4 separate regions of the Homo sapiens genome follow, and all the other regions are linked to region 1. Evidence: promoter capture Hi-C in 16 types of primary human blood cells and fetal thymus (Javierre and others, 2016). All regions are on one chromosome and are shown on one strand. Each heading gives the region's core, a stretch centred on a gene start or on the middle of the fragment in contact. The rest is flanking DNA. Distances are from core to core; before and after follow the strand shown.

The links. The method cuts DNA at HindIII sites, captures the fragments that hold promoters and counts their contacts. A CHiCAGO score of 5 or more calls a contact.
Region 2: a contact is called between a fragment that was not itself captured here and the fragment with the promoter of NCKIPSD in region 1, in 1 of 17 cell types (neutrophils). The highest score is 5.3, in neutrophils.
Region 3: a contact is called between a fragment that was not itself captured here and the fragment with the promoter of NCKIPSD in region 1, in 1 of 17 cell types (neutrophils). The highest score is 8.6, in neutrophils.
Region 4: a fragment that was not itself captured here is called in contact with the fragment with the promoter of NCKIPSD in region 1 in 4 of 17 cell types (M2 macrophages, naive CD8 T cells, megakaryocytes and 1 more); the score reaches 5.9 in M2 macrophages.

What each region holds. Positions count from the first base shown.
Region 1 is chr3:48,684,167-48,687,366 of GRCh38, forward strand. It overlaps NCKIPSD (NCK interacting protein with SH3 domain), which reads right to left and starts at 1,749. Exons shown (of 13, transcript NM_016453.4): 1 at 1,471-1,749. The coding sequence starts at 1,641. RefSeq lists silencers at 1,257-1,976, 1,370-1,664 and enhancers at 1,861-2,592, 2,187-2,256. The HindIII fragment of the contact is 7,513 bases long and covers 862-3,200 here.
Region 2 is chr3:48,268,998-48,272,197 of GRCh38, forward strand. It overlaps ZNF589 (zinc finger protein 589), which reads left to right. Exons shown (of 4, transcript NM_016089.3): 4 at 1-1,993. Among named protein-coding and RNA genes, the nearest start is that of ZNF589, 29 kb to the left of the region's middle. The HindIII fragment of the contact is 1,591 bases long and covers 690-2,280 here.
Region 3 is chr3:48,400,109-48,403,308 of GRCh38, forward strand. No RefSeq gene overlaps it. Among named protein-coding and RNA genes, the nearest start is that of PLXNB1, 28 kb to the right of the region's middle. The HindIII fragment of the contact is 4,211 bases long and covers 1-3,200 here.
Region 4 is chr3:48,948,710-48,951,909 of GRCh38, forward strand. All of the region lies in intron 3 of ARIH2 (ariadne RBR E3 ubiquitin protein ligase 2), which reads left to right. Among named protein-coding and RNA genes, the nearest start is that of ARIH2OS, 31 kb to the left of the region's middle. The HindIII fragment of the contact is 479 bases long and covers 1,193-1,671 here.

The DNA of each region.
Region 1 (3,200 bases), core at 499-2,998:
GAGTCGGAACGACACAGGCAGAGAGGCACAGAGTCGCAGCAATCCAGACAGAAAGAGACACGCAGAAAGAAACAGACAGTGACAGAGAAGATGGTAGCCTCTCTGCCCTCCCCAAACACCTTGCCCCACTGGTCCTGGCTGGCGGCAGGGGACTCACAGGCCCTTGACCTATGCCCAGTAGGGGAAGAGACAGGACTTTTCCTCAGAGGCCTTCAATGAGACCCCATTCCCAAAAAGGTTGGGTCTGACACACAGCAGCCATGGTGTCCACGGCCCCCACTCCCACCCCTGGCACTCCTAGATGGGATCACGCCAAGGGTCTATGAGGAAGCCCCTAGGCCCCCAGGGCCCATCCTTCCTGGTAAGACCAGATGACACTTCCAAATTTATCCCGTTATTTCTGTCCTGAACTGGGCTGGGACAGGATGTTTCCTAAAGGATAAGGACTAGGACGGGGCGGGGGTGTCTGGCACAGGCCCGGCAGCTCTGGGCCCTTCTTCCCCCTGTGGTCAGAATAGACCAGCTGGAGATACGCACCCCAACCCCCGCAGCAGGGCTACTCTTAGGGAAACAGGAACTGGGACTGCAGCTTCCACTGGAAGGAAATGGGGCCACGATCAGACCAGGAGAAGCTATAAGAACTCACTTCATCACAATGTGAGCAGTCCCCACTCCAGGCTGGGAACAAGTAGGGATGGAACCCATTTTCAAAGCAAGAAAGTTTGAGAAGTCAGGGTTGGGGAGTGGAGCAGACAGTGTCAGCAGGGGCATGGGTCCTTGGTTCAAATAAGGTTGGTAGAGACTTAAGAAGAGCTTAGAGGGTGGCTGAACACAGGCTAGTGAAAGACACTGAAGTACCAAAGCTTGGGTGTTACATAGGGGATGGAGGTGTCTATGGCTCTAGGGTCCAAGTTGGGGGGTTGAGGACCTGGAGAATGGCTAGGGAAACAGGTGGTGTCCAAGGTGGTCCAGGTCTCAGTGGTGGCTCCAACGGGGGGCAAGGCGCGGGGTTGGGGGAAGAAGGAAGGGAGGGAGGGAGGGAGGGAGGGAGGGAGGGAGGGAGGTTGGTTGTGGGGTCCTAGGAATCCAGAGAAGGGGCATATTAAGGATCTGGGGTCTCAGGGATTTGAATAATTGGCCAGGATTCGGTGGGGCTCAGGGTCGCCATTCAGATGGCGGACTCGATACTGAAGGGTCTGGGGTCCTGAGGAGTCTCAGTCCCAGAGTTAGGCTTTTGGTCGATCGGGAGTTGGTCTGTCAAGGGCCTGGTCTTTTGTGGGTGATGCTGACACTTGGGGTCTCAGTCCCCGTGGGTCCGGGGGTCTCAGGGTCAGGTTCTCAAACTCCCTGTCTGATAGAGGTCCTGGCCTCGGGTCCCGGAGAGGGTGGGGTCCCTGGGTCGGTTCCGCGGGGCTGTGAAGGGGTCCTGCCCCAGGGGCGCGGAGGCCGGGCGGGAAGGGGCGCACTCACCTGCAGGCGGCGCAGGTAGGCTGGCGGCACGTAGCCCGTCTCACCACTGCGCGCCCGCGCGGCCAGCCACCAGTGCGCGCTGCTTCGCTCTAGCACCAGGAAGGTCTCGCCCGCGGCGAACGCCAGCGCGTTGGGCTCCGCCGAGCGGAACGCGTACAGCGCGCGGTACATGAGGCCGGGCAGGGCAGGTGCAGGGAAGGTGGCAAGGGCTGCGGCGCCACAACGCCAGGCCGGGAGCGCCGAGCCGCGCCGCGGTTGTCCCGCCCCGTGACACACTACGCAGGCGCGCGCGCGCCCGCCCGCCGAAGCCCCGCCCCGGGCTGTATCGTTCCACGCATCGGAGAGCAGCGCCCCCGCGCGGCCCCAAGAGGTGCGGCGGGGCTGGGGTCGACAGCTCGCTGTCTCCTCTGGTCCCTCCCGGCTCCAGGCCCCTCATCCCCGGACACCGCACCCTCACTCCTCACCCCGGCCTCAGTTTCACCCGTCCAGCCCTCTGCTCCCTTTCCCCGCTTAAGTCCGAGCGCTGCGTCCCGTCCTACCTCCCGGTGAAAGCGCGCTCCGCTCGTAGCGGGTGCGCCCCTACCGCCCTGGGGCAGTGGGTCCCATCTACTAATTGCAAGGACGGCGACCTCGAAAGGATGATCTTGCTGATCCGACACTTGGAAGCCCCCGCGGGGCCCGGCTCTCGGTGTGTCTAGGCCTCACCACCTGTCTTCACCGAGTGCCGGTGGTGGCCAGTGGGGAGCAAGTGTGGGGAGAAGGGGGCCACAAAAGCAGAAACCAGGCGGGGCTATTCCCTGTCTAAAGCCCTCCCATCTTTGCTCCCCACCCCTACTCCTCCTCTCTCTTCAGCTATGGCTGGTTTTCTCTATATTGGGCCTTTGCATATTCTGTTCCCTCTACCTGGGACAATTTTCCCTTCCCTCTCCTATAGTATTTGTCCGTCAAGCTCCCACCCCCATCAATCGCTATCATCTTGCTGTGTTTTATTGTCTTTATAGGACTTAAGATTTGCGATGCCCCTTTCTGAGAGCATAGAGGAGGGCTGAAAGAGGGAGTGGGGTACCACGGTGGCCTTAAGAGCCTATTTGATCCACCCAGCTTTCCAGTCAGCCCAGATCTCCAGATATATGAAATCCGTGTAATAAGAGTGCCTGGAAGACCCAGGGAAGAGGCCCTCAGGGTCCTGGAGAGACTGTGGCTGAGAATGGTCCAGCTACGCTCCACAGGAAGCCCGAGCCCAGGAAGCAGGAGGCGTGTACAGGCCAGTGTGTGCAAGTTTTCTATTTTTATCTGTATTTATTTTTTGAGACAGGGTCTTGCTCTGTCGTCCAGGCTGGAGTGCAGTGGGATGATCAAGCTCATTGCAGCCTTGATCTTCCAGGCTCAAGCCTACTGTCTCTGGGACTACAGGCATGCACCACCACACTCAGCTTTTTTTTTTTTTTTTTTTTTTTTTTTTTTTAGTAGAGACAAGGTCTTGCTATGTTGCTCTGGCTAGTCTCAAATTCCCGGACTCAAGCAGTCCTCCCAGTGTTGGGATTATGGGTGTCTGTCTGACCCAGTTGCCTATTTTTAGGCCTAAAGTACATAGGCCTAGTGTGAGGTTCAGGTGAGGGGTAGAACTGCTAGAAACTGACATCCAGACCCTGCCTTCTCTGCACCAGGTCTGGCTCTTCAGTTCAAGACCTCTCTTGGCCCTTCCTCCTCCCAGAAGCCCTCCTGGGGCA
Region 2 (3,200 bases), core at 235-2,734, 420 kb before region 1:
GAACACACTCAGGGGAGAAGCCTTATGTGTGTGGGGAATGTGGGCGGGGATTTAGCCGGAGGATAGTCCTCAATGGACACTGGAGGACACACACGGGAGAGAAGCCTTACACGTGCTTTGAGTGTGGGCGAAACTTTAGCCTCAAGTCCGCTCTTAGTGTACATCAGAGGATACACTCTGGGGAGAAGCCTTATGCATGCACGGAGTGTGGGCAAGGCTTTATCACGAAATCACAGCTCATCAGACACCAGAGGACACACACAGGAGAAAAGCCTTATGTCTGCGGAGAGTGTGGGCGAGGCTTTATAGCTCAGTCAACCCTCCACTACCACCGGAGTACACACTCCAAGGAAAAACCTTATGTGTGCAGCCAGTGTGGGCGAGGCTTTTGTGATAAATCAACTCTCCTCGCACACGAGCAGACACATTCAGGGGAGAAGCCTTATGTGTGTGGGGAATGTGGGCGGGGATTTGGCCGGAAGATACTCCTCAACAGACACTGGAGGACACACACAGGAGAGAAACCTTACGCATGCATCGAGTGTGGGCGAAACTTTAGCCACAAGTCCACTCTCAGCTTACATCAGAGGATACACTCGGGGGAGAAGCCTTATGCATGCGTGGAGTGTGGGCAAAGCTTTAGGAGAAAGTCACAGCTCATCATACACCAGAAGATACACTCGGGGAAAAGCTTTAGAGGTGCAAGGAGTGAGGATGTGATTTTAGCAACAAGTCAGCCATCAGCCACACCAGCGGAAATGCTTAGGGAGAAGCCTTGTTTGTAAGGTAATGTGGACAGAGCTGTACGTGGACATCATTACTTGTCACGTGTCAGAGGACACACTCGGGAGAAACCTTCATGGAGTGAGAGTAAGGTGTTGGCTGGAAGTGGCCCCTTAAGAGATACTTGGAGTCAAATCTATCCACTGTACGCCCACCCCACTCTTGTTCTAAGAGCTTTGGGGACAGTCTTTTGACCCCTTACATTCCTTTAGATGTGAAGATGACAGAGATCTAACTTCTGAGAGCAGAGGTGTCAAGTGACGGTCCCCTTGGAGGAATGGTCTTTGCATCTGACTACTTCCTTCTGCAACTGTGTTCTTCCATTAGCTTCCATGACACTCTCCTGCTTTATTTTTTTCTACATCTCTAGCCTTTGCTGTTTCCTCTCCTACCCCACCTTTAGATTTTACTCAGAGTTCAGTCTCCAGCCCTACAATCTGAGGGACACCTTTACCAGGTCCCCTTCCTAACCCTCCAGTCCCAAATCCAAGATTCTTTAACCACACTCTAAAAGTTCTTCAGACTCAGGACTTAAACATAGCCACGCCACCTTGGCCTTCAATGACAGGGATCTAGCAATGCTGCATCATCAGCCTTCCAATACCAGGTTTAAGGGTATTTTAAACACAGCTCCTCTTAAATCCTCCAATCTCAGTACCCAGTGTTTTAGCCATGCTCGGGTGGCTAAATTACATCCAGGAATGGTGCCAGGGCCTTTAGCCATTTGTCTCTCCTCACACTCCAGGGCCCATATGGCCCAGGTTCTGACAGTTTGCCTTACTCCCTTGGGCTGGGGCTAGCCCTACCTGATACCCTGTGTCAATGAGTGTACCTTGGAGAGCTATCCACTCAGGCCCCAGTGCCTCTATTTGCTAAGGGACTCTGCCACAGAAAAGAAGGGGAGAGATGTTCATGTAACCTCAAAATACTTAGGCTTGGTTTTGATGCTAGAGAGGAAAAAGGACTTGGAGAGAGAGAAGGAATGGCTGGTCCAGAGGCTTTTGTCCACTCCCTCTCACTGGAAGTGGTTGATCTCCAGGGAATCCCCAAGGTTAGCCTGCTTAGGGGAAGGGCTAGGGGTACCTGGAATGTAGGATCTCCCCCATGCCTGGCCTACCACCCTAATGTGTCTGGAATTGGTGGGTTCTTGGTCTTGCTGACTTCAAGAATGAAGCCGTGGACCCTCACGGTGAGTGTTACAATTCTTAAACATGGTGTGTCTGGAGTTTGTTCCTTCTGATGTTCGGACGTGTCCAGAGTTTCTAACTTCTGGTGGGTTTGTGGTCTCGCTTAGGAGTGAAGCTGCAGACCTTAGCAGTGTTACGGCTCTTAAAGGCAGCGCATCTGGAGTTGTTAGTTCCTTCCGGTGGGTTCGTGGTCTTGCTGGTTTCAGGAGTGAAGCTGCGGACCTTTGCGGTTAGTGTTACAGCTCTTAAAGGCGGCGCGGACCCAAAGAGTGACCAGCAGGAAGATTTATTGTGAAGAGTGAAAAAACAAAGCTTCCACAGCATGGAAGGGGACCTGAGTGGCTTGCCGCTGCTGGCTCGGGTAGCCTGCTTTTATCCCCTTATCCGGCCCCACCCACATCCTGCTGATTGGTCCATTTTACAGAGAGCATATTGGTCCGTTTTGACAGGGTGCTGATTGGTGCATTTACAATCCCTGAGCTAGACACAGAGTGCTGATTGGTGCATTTACAAGCCTCTAGCTAGACAAAAATTTTCCAAGTCCCCACTAGATTAGCTAGACACGCGTTTACAAACCTTTAGCTAGACACAGTGCTGATTGGTGCGTTTACAATCCTTTAGCTAGACACAAGTTCTCCAAGTCCCCGCTAGATTAGCTAGACACAGAGCACTGATTGGTGCGTTTACAAACCTTGAGCTAGACACAGAGTGCTGATTGGTGCATTTACAATCCTCTAGCTAGACATAAAAGTTTTCCAAGTCCCCACCAGGTTAGTTAGATACAGAGTGCTGATTGGTGCATCCACAAACCCCGAGCTAGACAGAGAGTGCTGCTTGGTGCATATACAATCCTCCAGCTAGACAAAAGTTCTCCAAGACCCCACCCAACTCAGGAGCCCAGCTGACTTCCCCTAGTGGATCCCGCACTGGGGCTGTGGGTGGAGCTGCCTGCTAGTCCTGTGCCTCACACCTGCACACCTCAGCCCTTGGGCGGTCGATGGGACGGGCAGCGCCTGTCGGGGAGTCTCGGGCTGCATGCGAGCCCATGGCGGTCGGGGGTGGCTTGGGCATGGCAGGCCGCAGGTCCCAAGCCCTGCCTCATGGGGAGGCGGCTGAGGCCCGGTGAGAATTCAAGTGCGGCGTGGGCAGGCTGTCAGTGCTGGGGGACCCGGTGCACCCTCTGCAGCTGCTGGCCCGGGTGCTAAGCCCCTTAATGCCTGGGGCCTGTGG
Region 3 (3,200 bases), core at 202-2,701, 280 kb before region 1:
CACTGCTGCCCCCTTTGCCAGCTTATAGGTGACAGAGGCTTCTATAGTCACTCACCGCTGGATAACTACTCCCCTTTTTGTCCTTCACACACTTTCATAATCAATCCCTTATATTTAAATTCCTTCCATTGGAAACACCTAGAGTGGTTTCTGGTTTTTTGTTGTTGTTGTTGTTGTTTTCTTTTTGAGACAGAGTCTCATTCTGCTGCTCAGGCTGGAGTGTGGTGGCATAATCTCAGCTCAGGCTGGAGTGTGGTGGCATAATCTCAGCTCAGGCTGGAGTGTGGTGGCATAATCTCAGCTCACTGAAACCTCTGCCTCCCAGGTTCAAGTGATTTTCCTTCCTCAGCCTCCCCAGTAGCTGGGATCACAGGTGCACACAATCACACCCGGCTAATTTCTGTATTTTCAGTAGAGATGGGGTTTCACCATGTTGATCAGGGTGGTCTCGAACTCCTGACCTCAAGTGATCCACCCACCTTGGCCTCCCAAAGTGCTGGGATTACAGGTGTGAGCCACTGTGCCCGGCTGTTTTCTTGACTAGTCACTCACTGTTATCTCAACTATGTCCTAAGACATAGCTCACCCTAAAACCAGAATTCACGTTAAAGACAGGGTAAGATTACTCACTAAGCTCCAGCACTACTGAATTCCACTGTTGTGATTTCTCTCTCTCTTTTTTTGAAGAGACAGGGTCTCACTGTCACCCAGTCTGGAGTGGAGTGGCATAATCTTTCACTGCAGCCTCAAACTCCTGGAGTCCAGCAATCCTCCCACCTCAACCTCTTAAATAGCTGAGACTACAGATGTGTGCTACCATGCCCAGCTAATTTTTAAACAGTTTTCGTAAAGATGGGGTCTGGCTATCTTGCCCAGGCTTGCAATTTATAGAGCTCCAGACACCCTCATTGGTAGCTGCTTCTGATAAATTCCACACTATGGCCAGAAGATGGCAGCAAACCACCAGCTTCAGCCACTTACCTGTGGCCCAGGACACCGGACCAGGTTTCCAAAATCTGAGCTTCACATTCCTAGACCTCCAGAGGTTCTCTTCATGGCCACCTGGACAACTGGCAAACCATTCTGTTTCCTTACACGTGCACATATCATCCAGATAACTGAAACTCTTATCAATAAAACCCCAACATCACAACCAGGGCATAAATTCTCTTTCAAACATCATGGTGATATCCTTATCTTAGATTTTTGGTAAACATTTGGAATTGGATAAACCATCATCCTTAATTAAGACAGAGAACACTTTTTTTTTTTTTTTTTTGAGATGGAGTTTTGCTCGTCACCCAGGCTGGAGTGCAGTGGCGCGATCTCGACTCAGTGCAACCTCCGCCTCCCGGGTTCAAGCGATTCTCCTGTCTCAGCCTCCTGAGTAGCTGGGATGAGAGGCGCCCGCCACCACACCTGGCTAATTTTTTGTATTTTTAGAAGAGACGGGGTTTTGCCATGTTGGGCAGGCTGGTCTCAAACTCCTGACCTCAGATGATCCGCCTGCCTCGGCCTCCCAAAGTGTTGGGATTACAGGGGTGAGCCACTGCGCCTGGCCGACAGAACACTTTTAAAGAGAGATCCATAAAACATCGCCAGTCAGCTGACCTAGGTAGTTTGGGGTGTATTTGTTCTTCAATGTGGCATCCTTAGGGAACCTGGTGGAGGAAACACATGCATCAGCAGCCATTGGTGCCAAGCAGAACACAGCTAGGTTCCCTGTATCCCCCAGCACCACCCAGAGTCACCTGTTGGCACTGGCCAGTGGGATCCAGGTCCTGACCATTTGGAAGGTTTCAGGTGGCTTCTAAGAATTCCAACATTCATCAGCATAAATTCAGCTGTTATCTTAATTAGCACGATTATTTCAGTATCAGAAAATTAATAAAAATATAGAACTCCTGGGTCATGTAACCATTTGGACAATTATTCCAACTTTTAAGTTGGTGAAAACGCTTTTTAATAAAGCACATCACTCCATAAAACGCCTTAAGGAGCCCCGGGTGGTAATGAGAAACAAAGGCCCTTTGTATGCTAACAGGTTTGTGAAAAATGTAATAATGAGGGCACACTTTCGTTGCAGTCTTAATAAAAATTAGGAAAAGATTGATCAAACTGAATTACAAATGTTCTATGCTGAAATTGTGGTCATGACCCAAGTTAAGCGATCACAAATTCTTGCTGGTGTTGGAATCTCCATTCTTGGTCATGGTTTGGAGTGAAGACAGAATTTCCTATCTTCTTGTGCCAGGTTTTTCTTCTCTATGTCTGTTATTATAACAATGTTCTGTGGCGGCTGAGCCATGACTCAGTGAGTGACTCAAAGCACGTTCAGTACTCACCCCTCCCGCGGGCACGTGCCCAGGCTTGCAGGCACATGGCCCCCCTCTCCCGGGAGCCTTCACCTACCCCTAAAACCTGCAGGGGCCTGAACCTGGAACAGAGAGGCCTCTGGAACAGAGGCATGGCTCTGTCGAGGTCTGTGGTGCTGACCAAGGCTGCTTCCCTCTGTGTCTGCTTGAAGTCCACCCTCAAGTGGATTTCCCATCCACCCTGCTCCCAGAGATGGTCAAGATGGAGACCCATTCCATGGTCTCCAACGGGAAAAGTCAGGACCATTCTGGGTGGCTATGAAAACCTGGCCAGAGCATCCAAGCTCACATGCTCCCAAATGATGGCACCTGGCTGCTGACCTGACTGTGGTCCCCACATCCGGCAGAAATGGGAAAGAAGGGACAATGGAGCCACAGCGAAGAATAGCAGCTATGACTACCCCCGGCACAGACAAGACCAACATGGCTCCTTAGGGACAAGGACTTTGTGGATTGTAGGGGCAACCCTACAGTGGATGGCTTTATTTAGGGCCAAAAAAAGGCAGGGGATAGGAGTCCTCCTGGAATTCTATCAGTCTGTCTCTCTCTAAACACTCAATGAAGACCTCGAGGGGAGGTTGTGGTCTCTGTGCCAGACGAGAGGAAATGCTAAGGGTCACTGGGTTATGGAGGATAAGCAGAGGGCCAAAGGGATGATCCCTCTGAAGGCCTCAAGGCTGAAGGGCCTTCCTCTCATCTGCCAGGCAGAGCTGCCACCCTATCTCTTCTGTTCCATGGGGGGCTGGCCTTCTGCTAAGGCCGAGGGTGGTCTCAAGTCAAGAGGAGTATCAACCCCCTGCCCTACAGACCCAACTAGCAACATGA
Region 4 (3,200 bases), core at 182-2,681, 260 kb after region 1:
TATAGTTGATCCCTGTTCCCAAGTGACTACTGATCTTCTGTCTCAGTAGTTTTGCCTTTTCTAGAAATTTCATACAATTTGAATTATACAATATGTAATCTTTTGTTACCTGGTTCTTTCTCTTAGCATAATGGTTGAGGTTCATCCATATTGTATCATGCATCAGTAGTGTGTTCTCTTTTATTGCTGAATAATGATTTTCCATTGTATGGATATGCCACATTTTGTTTACCCATTCATTTGTAAGTTGAGGGACATTGGGTTGTTTCTAATTTTGGGCTACTACGCAGTATGCTGCTGTGACCATTCATGGCCAGGGCTTAATATAGCCATGTGTTTTCATTTCTCTTGTATAGATAACTAGGAGTGGGATTGCTGGGTCACATGGTAAGTGTATGTTTAACATTTATTTATTTATTTATTTTTGAGACGGAGTCGTGCTCTGTTGCCTAGGCTGGAGTGCAGTGGCACGATCTCGGCTCACTGCAAGCTCCACCTCCTGGGTTCATGGCATTCTCCTGCCTCAGCCTCCTGAGTAGCTGGGACTACAGGCGCCCGCCGTGACGCCCGGCTAGTTTTTTGTGTTTTTAGTAGAGTCGGGGGTTTCACCGTGTTAGCCAGGATGGTCTCTATCTCCTGACCTCGTGATCCGCCTGCCTTGGCCTGGGATTACAGGTGTGAGCCATCGTGCCCAGCCGTGTTTAACATTTTAAGAAATAAACTGTTTTCCAAAGTGGCTCTACTACTTTACATTCCCACTAGCATTATGTAAGGGTTCCAGTTTCTCTGCTTCCTTGTTAGCACTTGGTATTTTAGGTCTTCTGGATTATAATCATTCTAGTGAGTGTGTAATACCTTGTGGTTTTAATTTGCATTCCCTAATGACTAGTGTCATTAACCACTAATGTAATTAATGATCTTTCCTTGTGCTTATTTGCTATTCATACATTTATTTTTTGTGGTGAAATGTCTGTTCAAATACTTTGTCTGTTTTTAAAAATTGCATTTTGTGCCTTACTGAGTTCTAAGAGAGAATTCTTTACATAGTTTGAATTATTTTATCAGATGTATGATTTGCAGATATTTTCTCCCATCCTGTTACCTGTATCTTTTTTTTTTAATCTTTTTTTTACTCCATCTAGTTCTGCTTCCTACTTTTCCATTTTCTAAATGGTGTCTTTTGAAGAGTAAAAGCTTAATTTTGATGAAGTCCAGTTTATCTTTATTTTCTTTTTTTAAAAAATTTTTCTTTTAAGGATTGTGCTTTTAGTGTCATATCTAGAAATCTTTGCCTAAACTAAGGCACAATTTTCTTCTGTGCTTTCTTTTAGCAATTTTATAGTTTTAGGTTTTACATTTAGATATGTGAACTCTTTTGAGTTAATTTTTGTGTGGTATGAAGTAATGGTCTGTGTTCTGTGTTTTGTTTGTTATGTATAAACAATTATTCAGTTGTTCCAGAACCCTTTGTTGAAAAGACTTTTTTTCTCCATTGAATTACATTGGCACCTTTGTTGAAAATTTACCATACATGTATGAGTTTCCTTTTAGACTCTGTTTTGTTCTATTGATCTATAGGTCTGTCTATTCCATTTTCTTTTTTTCCTTTTTTTACTCCATCTAGTTCTGCTTCCTACTTTTCCATTTTCTAAATGATGTCTGTTGAGTAAAAGCTTAATTTTGATGAAGTCCAGTATCTCCACTGTCTTGATTACCGTATGTAGCTTTATAGTAAGTCTTGAAGTCAGATGGTGTAAGTCTTTCAACTTTGCTCTTTTCTTTCAAGATTGCTTTGGATATTCTGGATCCTTTACATTTCTACAGATTTTGCAATCAACTATTAATTTTATTAAAAAGCTTGTGATTTTGATTGGGATTTTCATTTTGATTGGTTTTGATTGTTGTGTTCAAAATCTGTAGCTGTGCTGCCCGGTATGGTAGCTATGTGTGGCCATTGCTCATTTGAAATACAGTCAGTTTGAATTGAGATGTGCCGTAAGTCTAAAATACAGACTGGACTTAGAATGAAACAAAGGATAAAAATAGATTATCAATGCTTTTTTATGTGTTACATGTTGAAATAATACAATTTCAGATATATTAGGTTAAATAAAATAAATTATTAAAATTCACCCACTTAATTTTTCAATTTGCTGCTATATAGAAATACTTTTATGGCTCTTTCTTTGAATTCTAACATTTGGTTTTTGTATATATTGACTTTGTATTTTCTTTCTTCTTCTTTTTTTTTTTTTTTTTAATTTTTATTTTGTGACAGTGTCTTGCCCTGTCACCCAGGCTGGAGTGCAGTAGAGCTATCATGGTTCACTGCAACCTCAACCTCCCAGGTTCAAGTGATCCTTCTACCTCAGCCTCCCAGGTAGATGGGACAACAGGTTCATGTCACCATGCCCAGCTAATTTTTTGTACTTTTTGTAGAGACAGGGTTTTGCCATGTTGCCTTGGCTGGTCTTGAACTCCTGGGCTCAAGTGATTTGCCTGCCTTAGCCTCTGAAAGTGCTGGGATTACAAGCGTGAGCCAGTGTACCAGGCCAACTTTGTATTTTTTTTACCTTAGTAAATTCATAAATTCATTTATTAGTGTTTTTTTTCCCCCTGTGGAGTTTCACTCTTGTCCAGGCTTCAGTGCAATGGCAAATTTTTAAATTAAGGATTTTTGTGTCTATGTCTGTGGAATATTGGGGTTTTTTTTCTTGGTTATGTTTTATCATGGTTATGCTAACCTCATAAAATGAGTTTGGAAGAAATGTCCCTTTCTTCTCTAGTTTGTAAAAGTGTTTATGTAAAATTAGTGTTGATAGAATTCATCAGTAAAATCCCTGGGCCTGGAACTTGGTGGGAAGGGTTTCGATCATGACTTCAATGTCTTTACTATATAAAGAGCTGCTCAGTTTTTCTTTTTCATTTTGTGTCATTGTTGGTAAGTATTCTTCAAAGAACATGTTAATTTCATTTAAGATGTCAATTTTATTAGAATTAGGTTATTCATAACATTTTCTTATTTTCCCTTTAATGTCTATAAGAATTGTAGGGGGTGGTCCATCTTCTACCTCTGTTATGGATAATTTGTTTTCTCTTTTTTCCTAATTGTTCTGTTTTATCAACTTTGTTGATATTTTTAAAGAATCCATTTTTAGACTTCGTTAATTTTTGCTGTTACTTGGATTTTATTTCTTTCT